Regions from separate parts of the Homo sapiens genome. Here all the other regions are linked to region 5. The links are contacts of gene promoters, found by promoter capture Hi-C in human tissues and cell types (Jung and others, 2019). All regions are on one chromosome and are shown on one strand. Each heading gives the region's core, a stretch centred on a gene start or on the middle of the fragment in contact. The rest is flanking DNA. Distances are from core to core; before and after follow the strand shown. Region 1 has its middle 48 kb from the start of INTS13. Region 2 has its middle 8.1 kb from the start of ITPR2. Region 3 has its middle 140 kb from the start of KRAS. Region 4 has its middle 33 kb from the start of ITPR2. Region 5 holds the start of BHLHE41 (basic helix-loop-helix family member e41). Region 6 has its middle 70 kb from the start of KRAS.

Evidence for each region. The method cuts DNA at HindIII sites, captures the fragments that hold promoters and counts their contacts. A contact is called where the count stands out against the background at its distance.
Region 1: a contact is called between a fragment that was not itself captured here and the fragment with the promoter of BHLHE41 in region 5, in 1 of the 25 tissues and cell types used here (lymphoblastoid cells).
Region 2: a fragment that was not itself captured here is called in contact with the fragment with the promoter of BHLHE41 in region 5 in 1 of the 25 tissues and cell types used here (lymphoblastoid cells).
Region 3: a contact is called between a fragment that was not itself captured here and the fragment with the promoter of BHLHE41 in region 5, in 1 of the 25 tissues and cell types used here (mesenchymal stem cells).
Region 4: a fragment that was not itself captured here is called in contact with the fragment with the promoter of BHLHE41 in region 5 in 1 of the 25 tissues and cell types used here (mesenchymal stem cells).
Region 6: a contact is called between a fragment that was not itself captured here and the fragment with the promoter of BHLHE41 in region 5, in 2 of the 25 tissues and cell types used here (heart left ventricle and thymus).

What each region holds. Positions count from the first base shown.
Region 1 is chr12:26,887,454-26,892,016 of GRCh38, reverse strand. No RefSeq gene overlaps it. Among named protein-coding and RNA genes, the nearest start is that of INTS13, 48 kb to the left of the region's middle. The HindIII fragment of the contact is 6,896 bases long and covers 1-4,563 here.
Region 2 is chr12:26,838,854-26,843,832 of GRCh38, reverse strand. No RefSeq gene overlaps it. Among named protein-coding and RNA genes, the nearest start is that of ITPR2, 8.1 kb to the right of the region's middle. The HindIII fragment of the contact is 3,235 bases long and covers 56-3,290 here.
Region 3 is chr12:25,391,301-25,395,742 of GRCh38, reverse strand. No RefSeq gene overlaps it. Among named protein-coding and RNA genes, the nearest start is that of KRAS, 140 kb to the right of the region's middle. The HindIII fragment of the contact is 4,501 bases long and covers 1-4,206 here.
Region 4 is chr12:26,864,384-26,868,764 of GRCh38, reverse strand. No RefSeq gene overlaps it. Among named protein-coding and RNA genes, the nearest start is that of ITPR2, 33 kb to the right of the region's middle. The HindIII fragment of the contact is 3,541 bases long and covers 1,012-4,381 here.
Region 5 is chr12:26,123,709-26,128,283 of GRCh38, reverse strand. BHLHE41 (basic helix-loop-helix family member e41) reads left to right here and starts at 3,247. Exons shown (of 5, transcript NM_030762.3): 1 at 3,247-3,566; 2 at 3,702-3,765; 3 at 4,105-4,212; 4 at 4,543-4,575. The coding sequence starts at 3,505. It also overlaps a transcript of SSPN not described here. RefSeq lists a silencer at 1,666-1,835. The HindIII fragment of the contact is 3,249 bases long and covers 2,762-4,575 here.
Region 6 is chr12:25,318,877-25,323,793 of GRCh38, reverse strand. No RefSeq gene overlaps it. Among named protein-coding and RNA genes, the nearest start is that of KRAS, 70 kb to the right of the region's middle. The HindIII fragment of the contact is 3,284 bases long and covers 1-3,159 here.

The DNA.
Region 1 (4,563 bases), core at 329-2,828, 770 kb before region 5:
ATGATGAATGAATGAATCTGTTGAGAAACTTCAGGAGTGTCAGATGTGTGATTATGCTCATGAAGGTGCTGTTGACTTAGCTGATTTGACAGGAGTACTTGACTGAACTCAAGGGGAAAATGGGAGGCTGCCAGTGTCTCCCTTGCTGATGCTGTAGGTGTCAAGAGACTGTCAGGTGAATGTACAGATTTTTCCCAGTCGACTGGAACAGAGCCACTCCATTTGCTGAGAAATGTTGTCATTGAAGACAGTACTTCTGAAGGCATGGCTATATCCTGCATTACTGAGGGCTTAAGAAAATGAGAGTACTTGGATAATGAAAGGAGAGCTTGTGAATACCCGGCTTGACTAATTGATTCTGAGACAAGGTCGGGTAAAATAGTGTGCTTTTGTATTTCTGTCCCGTGGATTAGGGTGTGTCCTTTTAGTTCCCACTCTGGAGAGTCTAGATTTTCTACTGACATTGACACTGTAGAAGTTCTACCCTGAAGGAAGTCAAAATCTGTGAATGCAGTAGCCATTAGTACCATCGAAGGAGTGACTTCAGCAAAAGCAGCAGAATATTCAAGGTTTGTAGTCAAGGACATTTCCTGTAGCGAATTCTGTGACACTGCTGTATGCTGTGGCCTTTTAGTCTTTGTGCACTTTTGGAATAAACTCCTTGCAGTATTTGGAATAAAGTTGGGATCAGGGATAGGAGTGATCTGTCTCAAGGCAGCACATAAGCTGGGAATTGGCGATGCCTCATCTTTGGGCATCCAGTGAGTCACTGAGGTGGGTAACAAAACAGAGAAAGGTTTGCTTAGCTTTGTAATGAGTTCAGTTGGCCCCATCGTTGAAGTGGGGATTGAGCTTAACTGCCTGGGTCTTCTTGTTTGAGATTTTTGAAGTAATCTCCAACCTTCAATTGTATATCCTAAAACTTGGGCAAGATACTTAGAGGAAGCTTGCTGTTGAAACACTTGCATTAGCTCTGGCAGTACTGTGGAAACCTTATATCCCATAGGCCAGTGGAATTGTACAAGGTCACCTTGTAAAGTGATGACATGCCTAGGATCTTCAGCCATCACTGGAAGATTCCACAGATGCTTGTTTATCTTGCTTCTGAATGGGCTCATCGTCACTGAAGAAGGATCTAAGTGGAAATAGTCGGCCAGCGTGTATACCAAAAAGAGACGCTCTTGGACACCAAGAGCTTCAGCAGCTGCTTTAAGAGTAATTTCAGCTATAATGGCAGAAAATTCCTTTGAACCTCCTTCGGCCCTAATGCTGAAGATTTAAAACAAAAACACAGCATGGATTACTGCTTGACTAGCAATCCCTTATTTTTATGTATTCCTTCAGAGTTTATGTGGTATTCTCACATACATCCTCTCATTGCTACATCCAACAACTAGGAGGGAAGAGAGGGCAACTATTATTTTTCTTAGTTTATAGTTGAAGAAGCTAAGTTTCAAAGTAGCTAAGTACCCAAAGACGTAGAGTAAGCACCTGATCTAAATCCAGTTATTCTAACTTCAGATGGGAAAGTAGGGGATTTCAATGGAACAGCTGTGGGTTTTGGAGTTTAAAAGTTTAAACTCCAATTTGTCGGTTAGACTGGCTACATTATTTTGAGGTATTTAACTGATCTGAGTCTCGGTTTCTTCAAATAAAAAAGAGGAATAGCACTTAACTTGCAGGGATGTTCTGAATCTTAATTGAGGTAAGACACTTTGCGAGTGAGCTGGCACACTGATGAGCCTTTCACTACCCTGGGCCTTTACTGTTCCTTTCTTTCCCTTCTCTTTCCCTCCCTCTGGCCTTCTCTATCCTTCCTTTCCTCATGTTCCTCCCTCTGTCCTTCCCTTCATTATTCCTTTTGTCCTTTCCTTCTCCATATCCCATATCCTTCCCTTCCTTTCAATTTTCTTTATCTCTCCCTCTGCTTTGCTTGTTATATTTCCTTTTTTTTTTTTTTTTTCCAGAGTCTGGCTCTGTCTCAAGGCTGGAGTGCAATAAGTGGTGCGATCTCGGCTCACTGCAATCTCCACCTCCCAGGTTCAAGCGATTCTCCTGCCTCAGCCTCTGGAGTAGCTGGGACTACAGGCACGCATCACAACGCCCAGCTAATTTTTGTAATTTTAGTAGAGATGGGGTTTCACCATATTGGTCAGGCTGGTCTTGAACTCCTGACCTCAGGTGATCCACCCACCTTGGCCTCCCAAAGTGCTGGGATTACAGGCACGAGCCACTGCTTTGTTACATTTCTTTATCTCTCATCTTTTTTGCAGCTAGACCAACAGCGGGTCCCCTCTCAGATACAAGTACTGGTCAGTGGCCCCTGCAGTTATTGAATGTGCTCTTTTCAGTAACAGCCCATGGTGAGGCTGCAGTTCAGAGCTGGCGTTGGAAGCCAGCGGCTCTAGAAGAGTGTGGTTTGCTGAATGGAAACCAAAGTAGTAATTCTCACAGGACCAGAAAGGCTCTGAGGGTGGGACAGCCCGGTTGAAATGAGCAGTCATTTCAACCTATAATGCATTTCTGGCTAGCTAACTTTTTCAACTTTAGAAATCCATTATGGGCTGGGTGCAGTGGCTCACACCTGTAATCCCAGCACTTTGGGAGGCCAAGGCGGGTGGGTCGCTTGAGGTCAGGAGTTCAAGGCAAGCCTGACCAACATGGTGAAACCCTGTCTCTACTAAAAATACAAACAAATTAGCCGGGCATGGTGGCAGGCGCCTGTAATCCCAGCTACTTGGGAGGCTGAGGCAGGAGAATCACTTGAACCTGGGAGGTGGAGGTAGCAGTGAGCCGAGATCACGCTACTGCACTCCAGCCTGGGTGACAAAGCTAGGCTCCCTCTCAAAAAAAAAAGAAAGAAATCTATTATGGACATTACTTCATCCAGTTTTTGCCAACATCCTCCATCCAAATTAAAACAACTAAATTAGTTAAAGCTACTAATTTAGTCTCTATATGTTATATATGGTTCTGTTATTGCAGTCATACTTTTAAATATTTTTCATATTTTTTAAAATTTTTATTTATAAAATAAATTTATTAAAAATATTTAAAATGTTATTATAAATGATAAAATATAATAAAATAAAAAGGAATAGTAAAAATTTAAAATTTGTTACAAAAATTTATAAAAATAAAATCCTTTCTTAATTTTTATATTTTACATTTCTGTGTACCCTACTGGAATACTACACTATGAGTTGCTTGACAGCAGCTTATTCATATTATCTTCAACTCCTATCTCAGGAGTCTTGTATAAGACGCTTAGGCACTCACCAAATTCTTATTGAATGAATGAGTGAGTCAATGAACAAAAGAACGAAAACAGATGGAATGACATATATGAAAGTACTTTATAAATTGTGAATTGCTGTGTGGGAGTTAGTTATTATTGGCCTGATCTATAATTTTCACAATTTTGCATAAAAATTCTTTTAGAAGATAGAGGTAACTTTCTAGAGAGAAAACTTCAAAGTTTAGGTTGAAAGAGAGAGTAAATGACATGGTTATGTCTACATTTGAAAATAATTTGAGGAAGATAAAAATACTTGAATGTGAATTGTTAGGCTATGTAGAACTGCCTTTTAACCTTTTAAAAATAGATAATACATGAACACAATATAAAAATTCAAAAGGTAAAATAGGAGATTCATTGCCCAATCTCCTAGTTTCTTTCACTTACGTTACCAGAATATTCAGATACGTTCTATGTTTTTATAGACGAATATGTATACAAGAAGCTGCCTTTCAAAAGAGAAAAAGAGAAAGGACTGTTTTCAGCTAGTACGTGGTCGATGAGTATAAAATAAAATGATATGAGAAATAAAAACTTAGTTCTCCAATTTTCATTTACTTGGGAGTTGTTTTCCCATTCAAGGGATTATTGTAATAAGCTTTGTTTTAAGGTTTTATTGTTTAGCAACATTGTGAAAACATCTCTATGTCTTCTGTTCCTCATTCTTTTTTAAATACAAGATTTTATTTCTTCAAATCCTATCCTTGCTTTTTGACTACACTCATAAACTGAGCACTACACACAGCTACTCTGGTACTTACCCATTGGGAGAAGGAACCAAGCTTCCCCTCACCTCATTCCCAGCCAGCACATGAAGGGTAAAGATGAAAGCTGTTTGTGTTTGCTGAAAACAGAGAACCCCAGATACAAGCACCATGATTTGGTAATTTCCTCCCTCATCTTCTAAGGGCAGTCCTTGCAAGGTCTTGGTGGGAGAATGATATTCCAGCCATCTTGGCAGTTTGACATCATGAACTAGGGTAACCTGTTCAGGTATACACGAAACATAAAGTCTGAACTTGCCTTTAGGAAGAGGTTTGAAACTTGCTTGCTCTGTCTCTGTGGCAGCGCATTAATACTAAGAGTTAGCCAGGGCATGGTGGCTCACGCCTCTAATCCCAGCAGTTTGGGAGGCCGAGGCAGGCAGATCACAAGGTCAGGAGTTTGAGACCAGCCTGACCAACATGGTGAAACCCTGTCTCTACTAAAAATACAAAAATTAGCTGGGTGTGGTGGCATGCGCCTGTAATCCCAGCTACTCAGGA
Region 2 (4,979 bases), core at 424-2,923, 720 kb before region 5:
AACTCAGAGTTCTTGCCTTAAACAAATTGATGCTAATTAGTTGGGTAATCAGGATGTATACATCCGAAATAATGCACTAAAGTAGACCCACATTACTGCATTTCAAACTAGATTCATAAATGAGAGAAAACAAAGGTAAACTTGGGGGAATCACAGGGGTGAGAAAAAGGACTCCAGGAAGTTTTCCCTGGATTTATTCTCCCTGGTTTTGCCCAACCAAAGTATTATGTCTTCCCAAAAATCAGGAACCACAAGCATGGCAGCATTCTCTGGTGTTAGATGGCAGTTTTCTCTGTGGGTTTTATCCGCTACCTTCTTTGAAGAGATAAAAAGCTGTCAGCTTGTGGAAAGCAGAGTTCTCATGTGACAATTGTGGGTGGTTTTATAGCACCAGGCTGGAAATTTAGCCATTTTGTTTCTTTTGTCTCAAAATTTGCTTTTCCCTGATGTCTGAAACGTGTCTGTTAAAAAAATTGATTTCTTTCTCTTACACATATTTTTTAAAAAATTCAAATTCCTTGAAAAAGAAAAATTTAATAATTATCAAGAATTTTGCCCTGGCTCAGTGTGGCTCATGCTTGTAATCCCAGAACTTTGGGAGGCAGAGGCGGGTAGATCACTTGAGGCCAGGAGTGCAAGACCAGCCTGACCAACATGCAATACCTGGTCTCTACTAAAAATACAAAAAATAGCTGGGTATGGTGGTGGGGGCCTGTAATCCCAGCTATTCCAGAGGCTGAGGCAGGAGAATCACTTTAACCTGGGAGGCGGAGGTTGCAGTGAGCTGAGATGGCACCACTACCCTCCAGCCTAGGCGACAGAGCAAGACTCATCTTAAAACAAAAAACAAAAAACAAAAACAAAAAACAACAAAAAAAGAATTCGCTACAGTTGATGGAAGGGATTGATCTGTAAATGGCAGAGCTGGTGGCCCAGAGGCTCTGGAGACAGCTCTGGTGTGGGCTCAGTCACTGGCATGTCTTATTGCATAGACAGAAACACCTCTGATGCTTGGTTTTCTTATGACATTTCATGCTGCTTTTCTCACAGATAATCATAATCATAATAATAGCTAATATTTATTGAAGTTGGATGTGGTGGTTTATGCCTTGTAGTCCTAGCTCCTTGAGAGGCTGAAGCCAAAGGATTGCTTGACCCTGGAATTCTGGGATGCAGTGAGCTATGACTGCACCACTGCACTTCAGCCTGGATGACAGAGTGAGATCCTCTCTCTAAAAAACAGCAAAACAAAACAAAAAACATGAAAGGTTATTAAGCACTTTATGCCAGGCACCACATCAAGCCCCTTAAATGTAACTTCTAATTTAAACCTCACAAAGACCACATGAGATAGATACCATTATTGTCCTCATTTTACAGATAAGTAAAACGAGGCCCCAGAGGTTATGTATTTGCATAAAGCCTGGTAGAGAGTAAATTGTGAATTAGTAACTCATCCCAGGTCTATGCAATACTTGTGTCCTTAACTATTGTGGCATACAGGTATGGGATTCATTTAAGTGCCTGATAAATGCTTTCTGACATCTACATGGGAACATTAAATTGTATTTGGGGAAGAATCACTGCAAATTGAAGTAGGCAAGATTTTAGATATGCATACTTTTTTTTGAGACAGGGTCTTACTCTGCCGTCCAGTCTGGAGCACAGAGGCGTGATTTTGGCTCACTGCAATCTCTGTCTCCCGGGTTCACGCCTCAGCCTCCTGAGTAGCTGGGACTATAGGCATGCACCACCACGCCTGGCTAATTTTTGTATTTTTGGTGGAGATGGGGTTTCGCCATGCAGCCCAGGTTGGTCTCCTGGGCTCAAGCAATCCGCCTACTTTGGCCTCCCAGAGAACTGGAATTACAGGTGTGAACCACAGTGACTGGCTCATTTTTTTCTTAAAACTCCCCATTCTTTTCTGTTATAGAGACTGGGCCATTTTCTCTTTTCTTCAATATTTTGATGATTCTCAGCTCTAATTGATCATGGTTCTTAGAACCAAATGGTATCAGTTGTATCAGTTCTTCATAAAATACTTCTAATTACAACACCTCTCCTCTTTTTCATTTCCAAGCCCTTACAGAATTATGACATTAGGGTCAGATCAAGCCATAAGCGATTCAGCAGCAAGTAGTGTAAATACTTCTAAGAACTGTGACCCTCAAATAATATATATATATAATATTCACCATATGATTATGGTGAATATATATAATATTCAGAAGAATATTTTAATGGGATGTGAAGTTGGGAGTTTCAGTGGAGGCATCGAAATACCATCAGTAAGACCAAGATGCAAATTTTGAAAGGAAATATTTGACCACAAGGGATACAATGCTTAAAAATCTTTCTCCCAGACCAAGGATATGAAACAGTTGGGCTGTTGGAGATGTGAGTGTTTTGGAATGAGCTACTGCTCTGTTGCGTCTCACGCCGTACATACCCAGTGCAGGAGAGAAGAACGTGTGCATGCATGTGTGTGTGCGTGTGTGTGTGTGTCAGTCATGGGGAGGGAAGTCTTTGACTCTCAGATCTAATCTAGTGAGAAGAACTTCAAAGGCACCACATGGAAAGCTTATATTTGTCTCCTGCAGGTAGGGAAACACAGTAGATTGATGTCAAACTCTGGCTTTGGAAACAGAGAGGTTAAGGGTCAAAAGATGTGATAGACAATATTTTTGAGATGAATGTCAGACTTTTTGTTGCCTGGAGATTGGCCTGCATTTCCAGAGTTTTCCCAGGCTAAGATTGTTTCTTCTGGGCCACATCTTCAAAACAGATCTGGTTTGGGATTATTCTTAAATTCCTGTCCACTAGACAACACTCTGAGAGTGATCAAAACTGACACTGTCAACAAAGAGCAGATATAGCTATACATCGTGTGCCTAAGGTTAGGGTGCCCTGGGAAGAACACAAAATCACTTTTGTAGTATTCTGGCTAGAAATGCTTCATCAAATCTAAGTGTGAAATACAAGACAAATCCAATTATGGAACAGCCTATAAGTAAATGACTTGTATTCTTTTTTCTGTTTTTTTTTTCTGTTTTTTTTTTTTTTTTTTGAGACAGAGTCTTGCACTGTCATCCAGGCTGAGTGCAGTGGCGCGATCTCAGCTCACTGCAACCTCCACCTCCTGGGTTCAAGCAATTCTCCTGCCTCAGTCTCTTCAGTAGCTGGGACTACAGGTGCCTGCCACCACGCCCAGCTAATTTTTGTATTTTTAGTAGAGACGGGGATTCACCATGTTGGCCAGGATGATCTCAAACTCCTGACCTCCAGTGACCTGCCCGCCTCGACTTCCCAAAGTGCTGGGATTACAGGCGTGAGTCACTGTGCCTGGCCAGATGGCTTGTATTCTTAAAAAATGTCAATGTCACTGAAGCCAAAGTGTGGCTAAGGAATTGTTATAGATTAAAAGAGACAAAAAAAACATGAAAACTGAATGCTATATGTAATTCTAAATAGGATTCTGTCCTGGAAGAAAAAAATGATGTAAAAGACACTATTGAGACAGTGGTATATCAGAGTTAAATTTCCTGAACTCGATGGTTGTTCTGTGGCTATATCTTTGTTCTTAGGTATACATGAAGTATTAAAAGGCAATAGGGCATGATGTATGCAACCTACACTCAAATGGTTCTGAAAATAAATTGCATGCGTACGTGTGTAAAGGCAGTGATAAAACAAATGTGGCAAATTATAAAAATTACTGAATTTAGGTCACAGGTATTCTTATAACTTTTCTGTAAATTGGAGATTATTTCTGTAAGTTTGAGGTTATTTCAAAATAAAAATTAAAAACAGATCATTTTCTGAGCCACTAGCCAAGGTTTGTTTCAACCTCTTCTCCCCAACCCCTACCGACATACAATCACCCCCTTCAGGAATGTTAGTAAGTCCCCACCAAGACAAGCTAAATCAGAATCTCAGGAGCTAAGGCCCAAGGATTTGTGTTTTAACAAGTTCTCCAGGCGGTTCTTATGTGTACTAAAGCTTGAGAAACACTGGTTTAGCCTAGTTAAGAACCATGCTTGGAGTTGGGGGTGGGGTTAACCCCATTGGGCTGTTACACTATGGGGGAAAGGTGGCTGGGGATAGGGGAAATGGCCACAGGATCTGTCTCACATGACTGTTAAGATGATAGTGGCTGAGATGGTTACATTCTCCCCTATCCCGCCCACCTTTTTCCTTTTAGCTTTGACCCAGAGGCCTTAAGGACACATTTTTAGTCCAACATTTCACAACAGGAGGTATACGTGACTAATGTATATTTATTAGAGAGCAAATTCACAAAACTCTCCACACTGAATACAAATTGATTATGGTGAATTAGCAGAGTTGTTCATTTTTGGCCTAGTGAGGAGTAGCAGAGATTTTTCCTTGGGCATGGTGGGCTGCAGGTCCCAAGCCCTGCCCCACAGGGAGGCAGCTGAGGCCCGGTGAGAATTCGAGCACAGAGCTGGCAGGCTGGCACTGCTGGGGGACCCGGCGCACCCTCCGCAGCTGCTGGCCCAGGTGCTAAGACCCTCATTGCCCGGGGCCGGAGCTGGCCGGCTGCTCCGGGTGCGGGTCCGCCCAGCCCATGCCCACTCGGAACTCGAGCTGGCCCACAAGTGCACTGCAGCCGCGGTTGCCGCCCGCGCCTCTCCCTCCACACCCCACAGCAAGCAGAGGGAGCTGGCTCCGGCCTCGGCCAGCCCAGAGAGGGGCTCCCACAGTGCAGCGGCTGGCTGAAGGGCTCCTCAAGCGCAGCCAGAGTGGGCGCTGAGAGCGAGCTAGGGCTGCCAGCACACTGTCACCTCTCACCTACAAGAGCCTGGCCTTGGATGTTCTAATTGGAAGTGATTTGGTATGTCAGATTTGTTGATCTGTCTGAGTAGGGAAAAAGGAATTGGAGATTGATAGAAACATTGATGGAATGAGGGGGATCAGTGGAGCCGTTTACATGCCCAGTCTTTGGCATGGTAAGGATG
Region 3 (4,442 bases), core at 707-3,206, 730 kb after region 5:
AATAATAATAATAATAATAATAATAATAATAATAATAATAATAATGTTAGTTCCATCTGATATGTTTAAGTAGCATACAGAAAGTTTCCATGATCAAATAAATTTTGGAAATAGTGGGTTGAACAATATTTTTAAACTGTGGAAGTGTATAACATTAATGGGAGCCATTCATACTGGTAATCATTGCAGATTTATATAGTTATTACAACAATTTTCTAGGAGATGGCAAAAAAGTGTCTTGAGTAGGGGAATTTTCTGTTTTGCACAATGGTGACATTTGGGCTATCAATGGGGCTAGAGATGAGAGTAGATGAAAATAATATGAAACTCCTAACATACCTGAATGCTGTCCTGTTCATGAAGACTGATTGCCAACATCATCAGTTTCTAGTGTTTTCGAGTTGATAGTTGTTTGTACCAAGTAGATTTAAAAAATAGCTAATTATTTTTAGGGTTTTTCAATGCCTTGCACAATTACTTATATACCTAAAAGATATGCTTGGAAAGCTGAAAGATTTTATTACTAGTAAGAGACTTTCCAAATCTAGTATAAGGACATTGGAATAATAAAATGTAAGATTATTTTTTAAACGAACTAAGAATAGGCAGTTGATTCAAGGAAAAATAGTTGAAATGTGCATGCATGTGCAAATACATATGCATAAATAGATTAAACTTCTTGAGGGTAGAGGTTTTATTTTTGTCTCTTTATTCTTGCCAAATGCTTGGCTGCAGTAGGCATTCATGAATTTTATTTATTTATTTATTTATTTATTTATTTATTTACTGAGACAGAGTCTCCCTCTGTTGCCCAGGCTGGAGTGCGATGGTGCGATCTTGGCTTACTGCAACCTCCACCTCCTGGGTTCAAGTGATTCTCCTGCCTCAGTCTCCCAAGTAGCTGGGATTACAGGCGTGCACCACCACACCCAGCTAATTTTGTATTTTTAGTAGAGATGGGGTTTCACCATGTTGGTCAGGCTGGTCTCAAACTCCTGACCTCAGGTGATCTGCCCGCCTCGGTCTTTCAAAGTGCTGTGATTACAGGCGTGAGCCACCACGCCTGGCCTCTCATGCATTTATGTAATGTTTATTGAGTTCCTTCTATGTATCAGACATGATTCCGGTCCAGGCACTAGAGTTAAGAGTGAAAAAGTAGACTTTTGTCTTCGTGGAGCTTACATTTTACTGGGTAGAGATACAGAGTAAAGTTAAAAAAAAGGCGGTGAGGGCGGGGGCAGAAATGAAGCCATTCATTAGGTAATGGATATTGAAAAAGTTGTAGAGTCAATAAGTAGGAGTTCCAAGGGTAAATGCACTGGCGGGAGAGGAAAGGCTTGAAACAATCAATGTTTTAGAAGGTAATCTAATTATTGGTAACAGGAAGGTGAAGTCATGACTGGAAGGAGGAGGATGAAATGGAGGAAGATAAAAAGATCATTAGAAAGAAGGAGATCCGGAAACTGTGAACGTGTGATGTTGAATGGGACAGCACATGGATGTCGCAGTTGCTGAAAATGGTGACCAAAGCGGAGTGAAGAAGGAGACAGTGAGCCACGTGCTGCAATCTTCAACGAAGGACATGAAGTAATTTAAGAGATCATAGATGACAGCACATAAAACGGTAGGCTCCCATAAAGCTGGATAGAATAACTTCGTAGGAGCTGGAGTTTTTGAGGGCTGAAAAAGAAGAAATGGTTTGCAAATGGCACTTTATATAAGTTCAGGTCAAAGGAAAAAGGAAGTGAGAAGACAGCCAGCGAAGTGTGTCCTCAGGAATAACTTTCTATGAGGCCAAAAATGTGATGGAAACACCTTTTTTTACTGAATGAATGAATGTTGAATCCTCACTTAGAGTCATTTAGAATAATTTCAAACTTAATTAGCCTTTTGAATTAAGTTTAAAGTAATGCATTCCAATTTCTTTTGTTCACACACTTTCATATTTATTTTAATATACTCATAAGGATAAAAGTTGGAAGTAGAGAGATTTCTGAGTTTAAAAGTATGTGTTGCAAGGGCAACCATCATCTTTTACTTTAGACGCCTCAGTATTTTTGAGTTTATTACAAGTACATACTCCTTTGATAATAAAGGGGAAAGAAAGTATGTATCTTTACCAAAAATACCTGAAAATCAAGCCACTGAAAAATTAAAATGGGCATCCTGAACAGCTTCCCTTTTATTCCTGGACTATGGTAACTTCAGAAAAGGAAAGAAAGCAATATGTTTTTTGTTTTGTTTTGAGACAGAGTCTGGCTCTGTCACCCAGGCTGGAGTGCAGTGGCATGATCTCGGCTCACTGCAACCTCTGCCACAAGGGTTGAAGCAATTCTCCTGCCTCAGCCTCCTGAGTGGCTGGGATTACAGGCACCTGCCACCACACTCGGCTAATTTTTGTATTTTTAGTAGACCACCATGTTGGTCAGGCTGGTCTCGAACTCCTGCCTTGTGATCCGCCCACCTAGGCCTCCCAAAGTGTTGGGATTACAGGCCTGAGCCACCACGCCCGGCCAGCAATACCTTTTTTTTAGATTGTTCTGCCATCTCCATCCCGTCCACACAGGAGTTGGGGTTAGATTTTATCCTAACTACTGAGCAGTGGCCTCTTTCTCTGTGGAGCAAGAGGCTGTGAGGACTTCCCAGGTCACACCCAGGCTCTAGCGGATAAATATCCACTAGATAGCCCTTCCAAGGGTTATCTTCCAAGGGTTATCCTTCCAAGGAAAACCCTTTCATAGAAGGGTTCTGAGGAAAAAACCTAGTTTTCCCTTTTTTCCATTTTCCAAGTAATTGACTCACTTATACGTAATGTCAATGGGCTCTACTAAATCTTTGGGCAAACAATTCAATAATACTTTAGGCTAAGTAGTGCTTCCTCTTGGGTCATACCTTATATAGATTAAAATAGAGCTATTTAATAAAAATAAAATCAACAAAAATGAGCACTCACTCTGTGTAAGACACTGTGTTCAGAGCTAAACTTAGAATATCTTATTTAATCCTCTTAACACCTGTTTGAGATAGACGTTATTCTAATCTAATTTACAGTTGAGGAAACCAAGACACAGAGAGAATAAATATGCTGAGATCATGCAACTATTGTGTCCAGGAACTGAGATAGGAACCCAAGTCTGCCACACCTCAGGGCATGTGCTGTTGTGTCTGGAATTGGTGGGTTCTTGGTCTCACTGACTTCAAGAATGAAGCCGCGGACCCTCGCGGTGAGTGTTACAGCTCTTAAGGTGGCGCGTCCGGAGTTTGTTCCTTCTGATGTTCGGATGTGTTCAAAGTTTCTTCCTTCTGGTGGGTTTCTGGTCTCGCTGGCTCAGGAGTGAAGCTGCACACCTTCACGGTGAGCGTTACAGCTCATAAAGGCAGTGTGGACCCAAAGAGTGAGCAGTAGCAAGATTTATTGCAAAGAGTGAAAGAACAAAGCTTCCACAGTGTGGAAGGGGACCCGAGTGGGTTCCCACTGCTGGCTCCGGCAGCCTGCTTTTATTCTCTTATCTGGCCCCACCCACGTCCTGCTGATTGGTAGAGCCCAGTGGTCTGTTTTGACAGAGGGCTGATTGGTGCGTTTACAATCCCTGAGCTAGACACAAAGGTTCTCCACGTCCCCACCAGATTAGTTAGATACAGAGTATGGACACAAAGGTTCTCCAAGGCCCCACCAGAGTAGCTAGATACAGAGTGTCCATTGGTGCATTCACAAACCCTGAGCTAGACACAGGGTGCTGATTGGTGTGTTTACAAACCTTGAGCTAGATAGAGTGCCAATTGGTGTATTTACAATCCCTGAGCTAGACATAAAGGTTCTCCACGTCCCCACCAGACTCAGGAGCCCAGCTGGAGCCCAGCTGGCTTCACCCAGTGAATCCTGCACCAGGGCTGCAGATGGAGCTGCCTACCAGTCCTGTGGCATGCGCTCGCACTCCTCAGCCCTTGGGTGGTCAATGGGACTGGGCGCTGTGGAGCAGGGGGTGGCACTCGTCACGGAGGCTCGGGCCGCATAGGAGCCCATGGAGGGGGTGGGAGGCTCAGGCATAGTGGGCTGCAGGTCCCGAGCCCTGCCCTGCGGGAAGGCAGCTAAGGCCCTGTGAGAAATCAAGCGCAGCGCCGGCGGGCTGGCACTGCTGGGGGACCCAGTACACCCTCCGCAGCCGCTGGCTCGGGTGCTAAGCCCCTCATTGCCTGGGGCCGGCAGGGCTGGCCAGCTACTCGGAGTGCGGGGCCCCCCAAGCCCACGGCCACCCGGAACTCCAGCTGGCCCGCAAGCACCGCGCGCAGCCCCGGTTCCCGCTCGTGCCTCTCCCTCCACACCTCCCTGCAAGCTGAGGGAGTGGGCTCCTGCCTTGGCCAGCCCAGAAAGGGGCTCCCACAGTGCAGCGGCGGGCTGAAGGGCTCCTCAAGTGACGCCAAAGTGGGAGCCCAAGCAGAGG
Region 4 (4,381 bases), core at 1,533-4,032, 740 kb before region 5:
CATTTAAATGTTAAGTCTCCACCCAAAGTAAACATGAGTTGAATGTTATATGTGTGTTTGTTCAATAGGCATGCCTCAGGACCAACTTCATGAATATTCATAGCTCCTCGTGTGACCTGTTGAATATGTGTGTTTAGTCAATGGTTCAGCATAAAGCTTCTACTCCAACCCCTCCTTCTTTGAAGCGCCTGTCTCTGGTCTTGGCCTAAGGCACATTTCCCAGCCTGTGGGATGGCCAGCCACCTTGCAGGCTGTAATTCTTTCTTTTCTTTTCTTTTCTTTTTTAAATTATACTTTAAGTTCTGGGGTACATGTGTGGAACGTGCAGGTTTGTTACATAGGTATACATGTGCCATGGTGGTTTGCTGTACCCATCAACCCGTCATCTACATTAGGTATTTCTCCTAATGCTATCCCTCCCCTAGTCCCCTACACCCCAACAGGCCCCAGTGTGTGATGTTCCCCTCCCTGTGTCCATGTGTTCTCATTGTTCAGCTCCCACTTATGAGTGAGAACATACAGTGTTTGGTTTTCTGTTCTTGTGTTTGTTTGCTGAGAATGATGGTTTCCAGCTTCATTCATGTCCCTGCAAAGGACATGAACTCATCCTTTTTTATGGCTGCATAGTATTACATGGTGTATATGTGCCACATTTTCTTTATCCAGTCTATCATTGATGAGCATTTGGGTTGGTTCCAAGTCTTTGCTATTGTGAACAGTGCTGCAATGAACATATGTGTGCATGTGTCTTTATAGTAGAATGATTTGTAATCCTGTGGGTATATACCCAGTAATGGAATTGCTGGGTCAAATGGTATTTCTGGTTCTAGATCCTTGAGGAATTGCCACACTGTCTTCCACAAGTTGAACTAATTTACACTCCCACCAACAGTGTAAAAGCGTTCCTATTTCTCCACATCCTCTCCAGCACCTGTTGTTTCCTGACTTTTAATGATTGCCATTCTAACTGGCATGAGATGGTATCTCATTGTGGTTTTGATTTGCATTTCTCTAATGACCAGTGATGATGAGCTTTTTTTCATATGTTTGTTGGCTGCATAAATTATCTTCTTTTGAAAAGTGTCTGTTCACATCCTTCACCCACTTTTTGATGGGGTTGTTTTTTTTTTTCTTGTAAATTTGTTTAAGTTCTTTGTAGATTCCGGATATTAGCAGGCTGTAATTCTTTACAAGAAATAGTCTCCTTTCTAAATTATAAATTACATGTTTTTTTAAGTTAACAAAACACATGTGTGTCTTAAAATTTTTCCCACCGGTGACAGAGATCCTAGTGATAGAGAAAAAGGCTTTATTCATCTGTTTAAAAGGTCCCTGTAAATAGTAGGCCCTAAACAGAAATTACTCATGATAGACACAGGTGACATTGGTAGGGCTTGGCCAGTTCAGTCAGTTGATAACTAAGATGGTCAAGTTTATGAAACAGAAAGATCACAAACTAGCAAGTGTTGGAAAACTGCTGGTAAGACGGGGAGAATAATTTTGTTTCAAGTTAAGAAAAACTGACACTTGTGGTTTCCGTGTGAGAGGAGTCAGTACTCAGTTTGAGCAACTTCTGCAAAAAAAAAAAAAAAGGTACCCTCCTGGGTTGAATCCAATTGAGGCAAGCCAACTGATAAAAAATACAAGCATTGTGTGGAAAGGAGATACTAAAAAACACTCTTTTGTGAAAAAGATACAAACTTCAATCAAGATAAATAAAACCATTGGAATAAGCTCTTCTTATATTAAAGAAGTAAAGTCTTAAGATAGTCTTTTATGGTTTATTATTTTATTTCTAATTAAGTTTTATTGTAATAAAACTTTATTTCTAAATAAAATCTTAATTAGAAATTAATGCTTAGCAAGCTTACTAAAGTACACTTTTTTTCCTCCTTTTTGAGACAGGGTCTTGCTCAGTTTCCCAAGCTGGAGTGCAATGGTATGAACATAGCTCACTGCAGCCTCAACCTCCCAGGCTCAAACAATCCTCCCACTCCGGCCTCCTGAGTAGCTGGGACCATAGGCGTGTGCCACCCCACCTGGCTAATTAAAATTTTTTTTTTTTTTTATATAGAGACAGGAGCCTCACTAAGTTGCCCAGGCTGGTTTCAAACTCCTGGGCTCAAGCAGTCCTACCACCTCAGCCTACCAAAGTGTTGGAATTACAGATATCAGCCACCACACCCAGCTAAAGTACACCTTTAATGTTAGGCAGACAACAGTTTCTATGAAGAAAAAGGGTGAGAGAGCTGCATGTGGTGGCTCATGCCTGTAATCCCAGCTACTGGGGAGGCTGAAGTGGGAGGGTTGCTGGAGTCCAGGAATTTGAGGTTGCAGTGAGCTATGATAGTGCCACTGCACTCCAGCCTGGGCAACAGAGTGAGACCTTGTCTTTAAAAAAATAAAAAGAAAAAGGGTGAACTTGGGAAGGAGAGTAGGATAGAGGAGATAGAAAAAAGAGATTAAAAGTATGCATTGTCTCTACTCTCTTACCTTGGGAGGTAAGGAAAAAAAACATGTCTGTTGGGGTCTGACAATACATTATCACCATTTACATTTTAGTTGTCCCTGAGTTCTGGTGGAAAGGCAAAGTTATCCTTAATGGGGGGATTACTTCTAAATTGCAGGCTGTAATTTTACAACAGTTCTCCCCTGTAGACTCATGTGCCTGCCAGAAAAGTAGGGCTTCCGTGAGGTATTCACCCAATTGCCCTTCTCTGGAATCTGGGGCCCACCTTTGGGAACTACATGTCTCCTGGCATCAATTCATCCTCAACAGGTAGCTACCCTCCCACCCCTGCAGCCCACACTCTTTCCTGTACTTTTCTTGATCTAATTGCCTGGACCCTCCCTGCCCTAGATAACTGGTGTCTCTTAGAGTGTCTCCAAATGTAAGAAACACACCTAGGCAGACAATTTTAAAGTAAGGGAGGTTTAGATTAGATTTTTAAAAAACAAGTATTTTTTAAAATTAATATTTGAATTTTTTGATTTAATATTAATTTCTCCTTGATCTCTGCAAATCATGAAATGCATGAAGGTAACTTCAACCAAGCCAGTGTGATGAGAAACTGACATCTTTACCAGAGAAGAAAATGTTGAAAGTAGTTTCAGGGCTGTCATATACCGAGTCATATCTTTTTAACAAAAATATTGTAATTATATTGTGAGAGTCATTGTATTTTATCTCATTTCATAATCTTATTGCTCTTACTCTCCCTCTCATCTCCAAAATCTCTCAAAAAATAACAAGTACTTTCATTGAATCATTACTATATGCCAGAAGCAATGTAACTTCTTCACATGCATTGACTCATTAAATAATCATAAAAATCCTATGAGATAATAACCCTTTTCTTTCCAATTTATGGATGATAGAGGCTGGGTGTGGTGGCTCACACCTGTAATCCCAGCACTTTGGGAGTCCGAGGTGGGAGGATCACTTGAGCTCAGGAGTTTGAGACCAGCCTGGGCAAAATAGTGAGACCCTGTCTCTACAAAAAAAAATGTTTTAAAAATTAGCCAGACGTGGTGGTGCACACCTATAGTCCCAGCTACCCAGGAGGCTGAGGTGGGAGGGTCATTTGAACCCAGGAGTTTGAGGCTGCAGTGAGCTGTGATTGCCCTGCTGCACTCCAGCCTAGGTGACAGAGTAAGACTCTGTCAAAAAAAAAAAAAAAAATATATATATATATATATATATATATATATTTATATATATGTGTGGTATAGTTATATATTATATATAAATATATATAGAGAGAGATGATGGAAATAAGGCTCAGAGATGTTAACATTCCCAATAATAGACAAACTAGTAAGAGGAGAACAGGGATTAGATCCCAGAGGGTTATGCTGCTGGGCCCAAACACCCAACCACTAACTTCAACTGTCTCTGCAGATTTTTGATGAGTTACACTGCAGAAATGGTCAGCCTACTTCTCATCTTTGTTCTGATTCATGCTGCTTATAAACATGGCTGGCAACCTAAGGCTTCATACACATGTCCTCTTCACTCCTGCCCTGTGTCCTAATTTCCTGTCATCTGTGTTCCTTATGTTCTCCTTGAGGTCCTCTCATGTGATGCCATAGTACTCTGAGCACTATGTCCAGGGAAGCTTACTTCTCAGCTGGTTGGTGGATGCACTGCTGATCATCCTCCCTGTCTAGATATCTGAATCTTTAGGAAATCTCATGTCAACCAGAGATAGAGGAAAATGGGAAGACTGGGTCTCCTGGATCTGATTATTCCCTGTAGATACTGGAAAAGGGACTAGCCTTCTAAGAAGAGCCACTTTGGATTTCTTATGAAGCTGTGGCCCTCAAAATTCTTGAACACTACCGTAAGAAATAGATTTCTGTTGCAACTTACAACACATAT
Region 5 (4,575 bases), core at 1,998-4,497:
CCCTTTTCCATCTCTCTTGCAAAACTCCCCACACAATTTCATTCACACACACACACAAATGTGCACACTTATACTGGTAAATAGAAAAACATCCCTGAAGCAGCTAGTTAACACTTATACCTTACCACTCACTATTCACATTGAGGTGTAAGAGTCGTCCAGGGTCCAGACTCTCGAACCCACTGTCTGGGCTTAAATCCTGGCTCTGGGACCTTGGAAATATTTTGCAATCTCACTTTGTAAGCATTTTCTCATCTGTAGAATGGAAACAATAATAGTATCTACCTTAGAGGGTTGTGGAAATGATTAATGACTTAATACATAAAAAGCTCTTTGAATGCAGTCTGGTACTCTAATCTTAAAGGCTATATAGTTGTTAGCTATTGTTACACCCTTCTTGCGCAAAGGGATATTCAGAGGCATCAAACTATGCCCAATATTCCAGAAGCCAAGAGTTTGAGAAAGAACAGGAATGGGATTCAAGTTTAAGGGAAGTGGGTAACCAAGAAGAGTCACCAGGGTGAAAGATCAAAGAAAAAAAAGGGCAAAAAGCAAACAGGAGATTGACAGAACTACAGAGAAATGGCAAAAGCTGGCATTTAACAGGGAAAAGGTAGACAGAGAACATAAGGGAAAGGAAGATAAAGAAGAAATGAAAAAGGGAAACATGAGTTAAAAGGTGAATATGTAAAGGAAAGACAGAAAAGAAGAGGAAAAGGGGATCAAGAACAACAAAGGAGATAAAAATTGGGAAAAGACCCCATTTGCAGTTTGAGTAGGTATCACGGGAAAAGGGTACGGAAGTGGGGAAGCTTGGGGCAGAAAGGATGGGGGGAGAGAGGAGCCTCAAAGAGATAACAGAAAAAAGCTTCATGTGTCATTTGCAGCTTTTTGTCCCTTTAAATTATGGGGTGCTGCAAGCTTATTTAACCCACCTTTGAGCCTCAAGGCTCCTGATCGTGTTCCTCCTATTTCAACTTGCATTTAATCTCTGCCCCAGACTTAGCTTCTAAGGTTTGCCCTGGTCAGATGTCTGCCTTGTGTTTTTAGCCCGACGAGGCCAAAATGCAATGATCTTGTCTTTATTTCATTTTCCCTAACCAGTCATCCTTTTCAAGTGAAATTTAGCTCTGGAGCAAATATTTACATCCCCTTTCTACTCCAAACATTCAGAAATCTAGAAGGGGACCTGGTGTTTTAATTTTTAAATTATTCACCTAACGGCATTCCCATTTTTAGTCAATTAAAAAGAGGTAAAAATGATACAGTACTGCAGGAATAGGTCGCTTTTAGGGCTCCAACGTGCCCTCCCCATCGAAGGGTCTTAATTACCTAACCTTTTGGAAATAGGAGAGAGGTCGGACCGAGATTTAAAATAAAGTCAGCATTTTAAAAATACTTTTTAAATTAAGAACCATCGTGATTAAATTGCCTGTTTGGTGCAAAATACGTTCCTCTATTTGAGGAAGTCGAGAGACCTTAAAAGGCCCTCTAAACAGATGAACTGAACGGACCGCGAGCGTCTCCTCACGCCGGGGTGATCCTGGGCCGCCGCCGCCGCCCGAGTCACGAAGCCAGACGCAGTGCGCGTCTCCGCCCAGGACTCCGGAGACTGCAGCAGCGCGAGCGGCCGCCGCGGCCCGGGCTGCTCCTGGAGTCGGGGAGGAGACGCGACTCCCGCAGACACGTGACCTCCTCCCAGCCGCCGCTTCCCGCGACCCAGATCCGTCCCCGGAACCCGTGCCCGGCGGGGCGGGCCGGGGGACACGTAGCGGGCGCCCCAGTCCCTGCTGCGCCCTGGTGCATGTACCTTTGGCGTTCTTCTCCCCTCGGTTCACTTATCACCGGCAATAATCAACGTTTCAGAGATCACCCCGGGGAGAATGTAAATATCCCTCTCTGTGCAGGAAAAACCTTGGTTTTTTTCTCTATGTCTTTATGTATATCTAGAGAAATATATATATAGCCTCCATCCCACCCCTGGGAGTCCCTCAGGACATGCCTTCCCCTGGGCTGGCAGGGCGGCGTGGGCAGTGCGCATCCCCGGGCACCTCCCGGTAACTCTCACTAGCAGTGAGTCATGCTCCCAGGGTGGCTCTGGGGAAAGGTAACCCGGCTCTTGCTGGCCTGTGATTCCCGGCGCCGAGCGCCGCGGCTGCAGGGCGAGCGCGCGCGCGCACGGGTTCCCCGAGCAGTGATGTGGCAGCAGCGGCAGGTCGGATCACGTTGCTGGCCCTGTGCTGGTACCCGTTTGAGACCGGATTAAGGAGGGAGGCTTTGGAGGTGCCAGCGGTAGTAAACGTGGGCTCTGCACACTCCGGGCGTCTCTTATCGCGCGGGGGGGCGGGGGGATGGGGAAAGCACGTAGCGTCACCGGAGGCTCAGAACGCGGCAGAGTTGAGCGGGCGGGTGATAAATGCTGCATAGCTTTTCTGTGGTAGCCCCTCTCGTGCCACCCCCTCTCGTGCCACCCCCTTCTCCCTTCCCAGCCCCCACTCAACCCCGGCTCGCTCCCCGCCGCGTTCCTCCAGGAGCACACGCGGCCCCAAACGTCGTCATCTGCTGCTGTGATTAGTGGCACCGCAATTCCGGCTGCTGCGGGGAAGTTTAGTTGGCCCAGGGACGCCGTGTCACCGAAAGACACTTGGATTGCGACATTCGGACCCAGTGACAACGTTTTCATGTATCTTAAATCCTTCAAGGAGCGGATTGCAAGTTGCTTCTTCTCGAGGCAACCTCTCCACCCAGCGCCAAGGAGTCCCTCCAGGCCACTGATCAGTGAGCAAACAAGTCTCCAAAATTTCCTTTGGGACTCAAGTTTACCCACCGCGAATTCTCTTTTCACTTCCTTTCTATGGTTCAAACCAACAGCACAATCGGTGGAAAAGCAAAAAGCCACGTTCACATTCCTGCACCGTAACAACGGACGAACCCAGGGAGTCGCATTTTGGAGCCAAGGAAGCTCAGGCTGCCCCGCACCCCTGCACCCCCACTCCCCCCTCCTCCTGCCGACTGCATCGCCTTTGGGAAGATGAATAGCTTGGCCGAAGTTGTTTTTCCTTTCCGGTGGCCCTGATCAGGTGTCCCCGCCCCCTCCTGCCGTTCGCCTTCTCTCGCCGCCTTCTCCCGACGCCCCCGCCCGGCCCGGCCCCTCCTCCCCCGCCCCCCTCCGGGCTGGACCGCGGATGGTACGTTCCGCACGTGAGCTGGGTGCTGGTCTGGCCGGCGACGCGCGTGCCCTGTGGCCAAACACTGCCTGGAGTGAGAGCAAACTACCAGCGCAGTGGGGCCGGCGCGAGTGTGCGTGTGTGTGCGTGTGTGTGTGCGAGCGCGGTGGAGGGGGGGGACCAACTGCTTCACACTTTCAACACTGCACTGAAGAGGGAGAGCGAGAGAGAGACTGGAGACGCACAGATCCCCCCAAGGTCTCCCAAGCCTACCGTCCCACAGATTATTGTACAGAGCCCCAAAAATCGAAACAGAGGAAACGAACAGCAGTTGAACATGGACGAAGGAATTCCTCATTTGCAAGAGAGACAGTTACTGGAACATAGAGATTTTATAGGGTAAGGTGCACGCACCCTTGCGAATATCTGTCTAGGCTTTGGTTTGATTTTTTTCTTCTCCAGAAAGTGGTATGGAGCTGGCGAGGGCAGAGCCCCTCCCCGAATGGGTGCCTGATGCTGATTTCTGTTTTGCAGACTGGACTATTCCTCTTTGTATATGTGTAAACCCAAAAGGAGCATGAAACGAGACGACACCAAGGTAAGTGTAAGTTCCCGATATTCCTCATAACCTGCATGGGTAGTTAATTAGAGCCATTGATTTCACAGTGAAGCTCTGCCCGCAAATATATTCCAGCCCCTGAGCTTCCCCAACTGTGAATTTTAAGTGGCTTGCTGGGTACTCTCAGGGGGATATTAAACATCATACCTGAATTTAAATTGCATTGCAGAACAGTCCAGAGGAAAGAGGTTTCTTGGGTGTAGTTTATCACATAGTATGTTTTATGGTGGGGGGGCGGGGGGGGCAGACGAGGGTAATATCCAATAAGTGAATGTTTCGCTTACTGTTTTCTCTTTTCCATGACTCTCATATATTAAGGATACCTACAAATTACCGCACAGATTAATAGAAAAGAAAAGAAGAGACCGAATTAATGAATGCATTGCTCAGCTGAAAGATTTACTGCCTGAACATCTGAAATTGACAGTAAGATGCACATTTTCATTCTTTGCTGCTCTCCAAGGGCGTGTTAATAGTCTGGTGCGACTCCCAGAAAATATAAGAATAAATGTAAATATAAGTTCCTGACTTAAAACTTGTGCTATACCGTACAGAGTTTCCCGCAAACTGGAGTAGGTGCTCCCAGCTGAAGGCAAGAAATCATTTATAACCTGTCTTGTGGAAAGCTCAAGAAGTAAAAGAACAGTACTTCTTTCAAAGTGTTTGCTTAAATTGCTGTGCTGAATGGACAGCCAATTAAGCCAAATGTGTGTTTTTAAGTAACCAAGTGCCCGTTTCTTTTTTGCACCACTGCAGACTCTGGGACATCTGGAGAAAGCTGTAGTCTTG
Region 6 (4,917 bases), core at 268-2,767, 800 kb after region 5:
CAGCTACACACCAGCCATTTCTCCATGACCAGGAAAATCCCTGAGCATGCCCACGACACTAAGCATATCTCTGGAAAATAGATGAGTAGGGAAGCATTTTGCAGTGGGTGGGCTGGAATTCATCCCATTCTGCATGAATTTCAGAGTCTTTCCTTTGAAGTTCAGTCCCTGACCTACAATTTGGAAGAACTGGGAATGTTTCTATTACCGTTATCATCAGTAGTGGTTTTATTGTTACTCACATTATGAAAGATATTTCTTCTTATCTTGAAATAGGGCAAATGAAGTATGAGGAACAATGCTTGAAAGTAAAAATATGCTTCTCATTTTTCTGGGATAATGCTTAGAAAATGTGATGGCCATCTAAGACAAAGCTTACTTAAGTGATTTAACTATCATTTTAAGGAATTCATTTTTTAAAAATCTCATTTATGGTTCATCACTTCAGTATTTTTATGCTGAGTTGCCATATCTTATTTAATTAACTTGCTTATTGTTTTGTGACAATCGTATCCTCTTTTGGTATTCTCACTTTTTACATGAAATAGTAAATATATTTCCTAAGTTCCAGGAAAAAATGAGAACACTTTAAAGAGCTGGAAGTATACTATATCTCACGCTTGATGCCAGTAAAAACAACCCACAAGCCAATAAAGGGAAGACAAAGGAAATGCAGTGTCTGCAATGAGTCATTTAACAATATGGTAGTAAAAGGTAAAAAAGAAAGCCCTGGATTGTTTACACTCTTCTTCTGCCCCTCAAATACCCCATCGAAGCCCTTCAACTTTAGCAGATCATTATTTGCATCTACTTTTTTAAGGAAAGAGAGAGCAGGCAACATGTCCTTTACTGCCTCTACCCTGAATTTCTTCAGATGGCTAAAGAGGAAGAGACTAACCCCCTCTCCAGGGAAAACTCCTCATCTATGCCCTGTTCTCATTCTCTCCAGCCTTCTCCACGGCCTTGCCCTCCATCAGTCATCCTTCTACAAAGTGTCAATCACTCTTGATTCTTCTTGATTTCTCCTTGACCTATTAATGGAAACATGCTGGGTGTTTCCCATCCCCATTTTAATGTCCCCTCTGCTTTTCTACCTTCATTACAAAATGGTCACTTTAAATCTAGGTCTCCCACTCTACAAAAATGGTTCTCCTAAATGTCCCCAGTGGCCTCCCTAAACACAAATTCATTGGACTTTTCTCTATTCTTACCCTCTCTGATCTCGGCAGCATCTGACACTGCTGACACCTACTTCCTGTTGAATTCTCTTCCTTGAAGTCTTAGACTCCCCTCTCTGAACCTTTAACCTCACTGTACCTCACAGATTTTCCTTCACTTCTACTCATTAAATGAAATACTACAAAGAGTCTTTCTTGACCCTCTTTTTATCTTACTCTCTTTGGTGATCTTTTTTGGAAAGCTTATTTACTCAACTTTTTCAACTTTCTGCAAATGACTCCAAAATACGTGTTTCCAGTCCTGACTTCTCTCCTAATTCAGCATCTGAATTTCCAGTTGCCTGCTAAACTGCCATATCTCCAAAACAATTAAAATTTTAAATTTCAAAGCCAAATGAAGCATCTCATCTTTGAAATGTTCTCATCTAAACTAATACATTTTCAGCCTCCAAGAGCATTTGGGAGCACATTCAGCCTCTCCCTTTCTCTCATACCCTACATGAATTTAAACGGTGAAAAAAAAGATGAAACTTTGAAACCAGACTGACTTGGGTTGAATCCCTGTTGTGCCACTTTCCAGAACTGTGACCTCAGGTTAATTGCGTGATCTCCCTGAGTTTCTTCATCTGAATTAATCAGGTACCCATATTTACTCAGCCCAGGTATTGCACCAGTTAAATGAAACAATGTTCACAAAGCACCTTCTATGTGCCTGACGTATCACAGCCAGGCAAATAATTTTTATACATTTTTAGTTTTGCTTACAAATAGTCTCTTTTATTGTAACATTTTCTCTTTTGATATTACTGACATTGTCACCACCTTAGTTTTGCGTCTCATTACCACTTGCCTGATGATTGCAACTTTTCTAAAAATATTTTCTTGCTTATCTCCCAGCCTCCTGTCCATCCTCGTTACTACTGCTAGAACTCCTTCTAGAGCACTATTATCTTGCAATGCTACATGGCTTACAGAATAGATGACAAGCTCCCCATCTTAGTATTTAAGTTTCTCCACAACCTGTTCCTTGTCAACCTTTTAAAATCACGGCTGCATATGCAGTCCCCTGAGCCCAGTGCTTTAGCCAGACTGGACCCTTAATTCGACATTCTTTACTTTCCTAGCTCCTTACTTTTGATCACTCATGCTCTTTGCCAACTGGTGGTGTCTGGTTAGGCCATGTGGCCATGGGGCCAATTGTCTGCATTTATTAAAATGGTACCAAGAGGAAACCACAGGAAATAGCCTTTACTTGACATAAAAACTATGTGCCAGAAACATTTCTAAGTGCTTTGGAGATATTAACTCATTTAATCCTTATAACAACCTTATGAGTTAAGCACTATTAGGATCGTAATTCAGAAGATTAAGAAACTGAAGCATACACAAAAAGTTATGCCAGGTTTCCAAAATCATTATAAATAGCACAGCCAAGCTTCAAATACATATAGCGCAGATAGTTGAAATCGTCAAGAGTCTGTGCTTCACTTATCACTATGCTGACTTTCCTAAAAGTTTGTCCGGAGCAGCACCAACGTAAGTAGTTTTAACTGAGGTTGCCAGTCTCCGTGAAGCTAGACACCAACGATTAGGACCAAAAAGGTCAGGAATGAGATGCATTGATGTGTGAGGAAGTTCAAGGTTGACAGTTGCAAGATGAGCAGATGGGAATTTCCTGAGCCCAAGTTCAGGGGCTCATGACACCTTTAAACACAGTACCCATGACCTCTGTGATGGCCAAGTTGGGAGAGCTAAGGGATCTGACACAAGCAAGTCTGTCTGGTTAACAGTCATCTGTCTCACCCTGTCCCCATGAGGTGAGAGCTTCCTGGGAGGAGGAATTATGCATTCCTAACCTTTGTGGCCTCCTAGTATCTGACATAGCACTCTTATTTAGTCAATACACATCAGGTGCCTATGTGTGTTAGGAACGGTATGGGGTTTGGGACATTTCATGGTTTCTTCCCCCAGAGTTGCTACGGTACTTTTTCTCTGATTTGATCTGTAAATTGTATTTGTACAAGACATGTGATTGCCAAGAGCTTTCTCCACAGTCTTTGCAGAAGCAATATAAATCACCTTAAAACCACAGGGCTTTCTGGAAATGAATTAGGGCTGAGACTTAAAGAACCGACTCTGGGGAATTTTAATTAGAACTGCAAATTCATCACACAGATTCTTTGCCATTTGGTGAATCAAACCTATCCCAATAAAACTGCTGTGCTTGGCTCAATTACAAGTGCTATGCCGTCTCCTCTGTATTCCTTCTGGTATCCTGCATAGTGTCTAAATATAGTAGGTTTGCTATACATGCTAGATGAATGCATGTCTGATGATAAGAAATGCTAGTGAAACTTTCACATCTGAGCACTTCTCGTTTTTGTCTCTGAAGTTTAAAGTTGTTTTCCTCAGGGGGAAAGTTGGCTGGTACAATGGAGAAGTGTCTGGGCTATTGATCACAAGTCTCTAACTCTAGAATTTAGCAAACAACAAAAAAAGTTTGAGATAAATGTCTCTATTTTAAAAGCTTACACAAAGTAAAGTTCATTCTGTACACTATTGACCACCAACCTAGACATTCAATGTTTTCTTCCACTTGGGATAAAAAAAGAGGTTTTCACTGCATTTTCTCCTAAATCATATAATTATAGGGGTTTTGAAATTACTGGACCTAGTCTTTGCCCTTCAGGCAGAAAGTATGTTTAAAATTTTCCCTAAGTAAAAATCATTACAGTTGTGTCTTGAATTTTGTATGTAGCATTAGTTCATAAAGACATAGAGGGAATAGGTACTGGCTTGCTTTATTTGCAGTGTCATGAAGAAGTCAGATGTAGCTAAACCTTTTCTTTTGTGTAGTCCTTGAAGTGGTATAAAAAAGGAATTGATGTGGTTTCATCAGTCCTAAACCAGAATCTGTCCCCAACACTGACCTACTAAGAAAATAAGAAATAAGTCAGCTTGGTTGCTTCTTGTCCATTTATAACCTGAACACTTTTTTAACGGTTAGGGACAACTTTTGATGAAGTAAAGACAAATTTCAGTATCAGCAGAGACTATATTAACACATGCTTTATAGTAATTAAAATAAATTAATGGCAATGATACAATAAAACTCCACTGTTCTTTAAAAAAAAAATTTCCCTGAGCAGATTAGTTTGTCTTGTTTTTAAGATACGTTTAGAGATTGCACAACCACCACCAATAGCCAGTTTAGTGTTTAATAGCCCAAGTCTTCTTTCTTTCTTTCTTTCTTTTTTTTTTGAGATGGAATTTCGCTCTTGTTGCCCAAGCTGGAGTGCGATGGCGTGATCTCGGCTCACTGCAACCTCTGCCTCCTGGGTTCAAGTGATTCTCCTGCCTCAGTCTCCCGAGTACCTGGGATTACTGGCGAGCGCCACCGCGCCCAGCTAATTTTTTTGTATTCTTAGTAGAAATGGGTTTCACCATGTTAGCCAGGCTGATCTCAAACTTCTGACCTCAGGTGATCTGCCCACCTCTACCTCCCAAAGTGCTGGGATTACGGGCATGAGCCACCGCACCTGGCCTCAAGTCTTATTTCTAACCGAAACTTTCCAACCTTTCTTTCTTGTCTCTTCAGTGGAGCTGGAGAACAACTAGGTAACTTTGTGTAATTACTTTATGAAGTCATTTCTTTTTCTCAAGAAAAGACATTTAAAAATTTAGAAAGTATAGTTAGTGAATTATAAACCCCTGCATTACAGTGCCTTCCTGTACATAA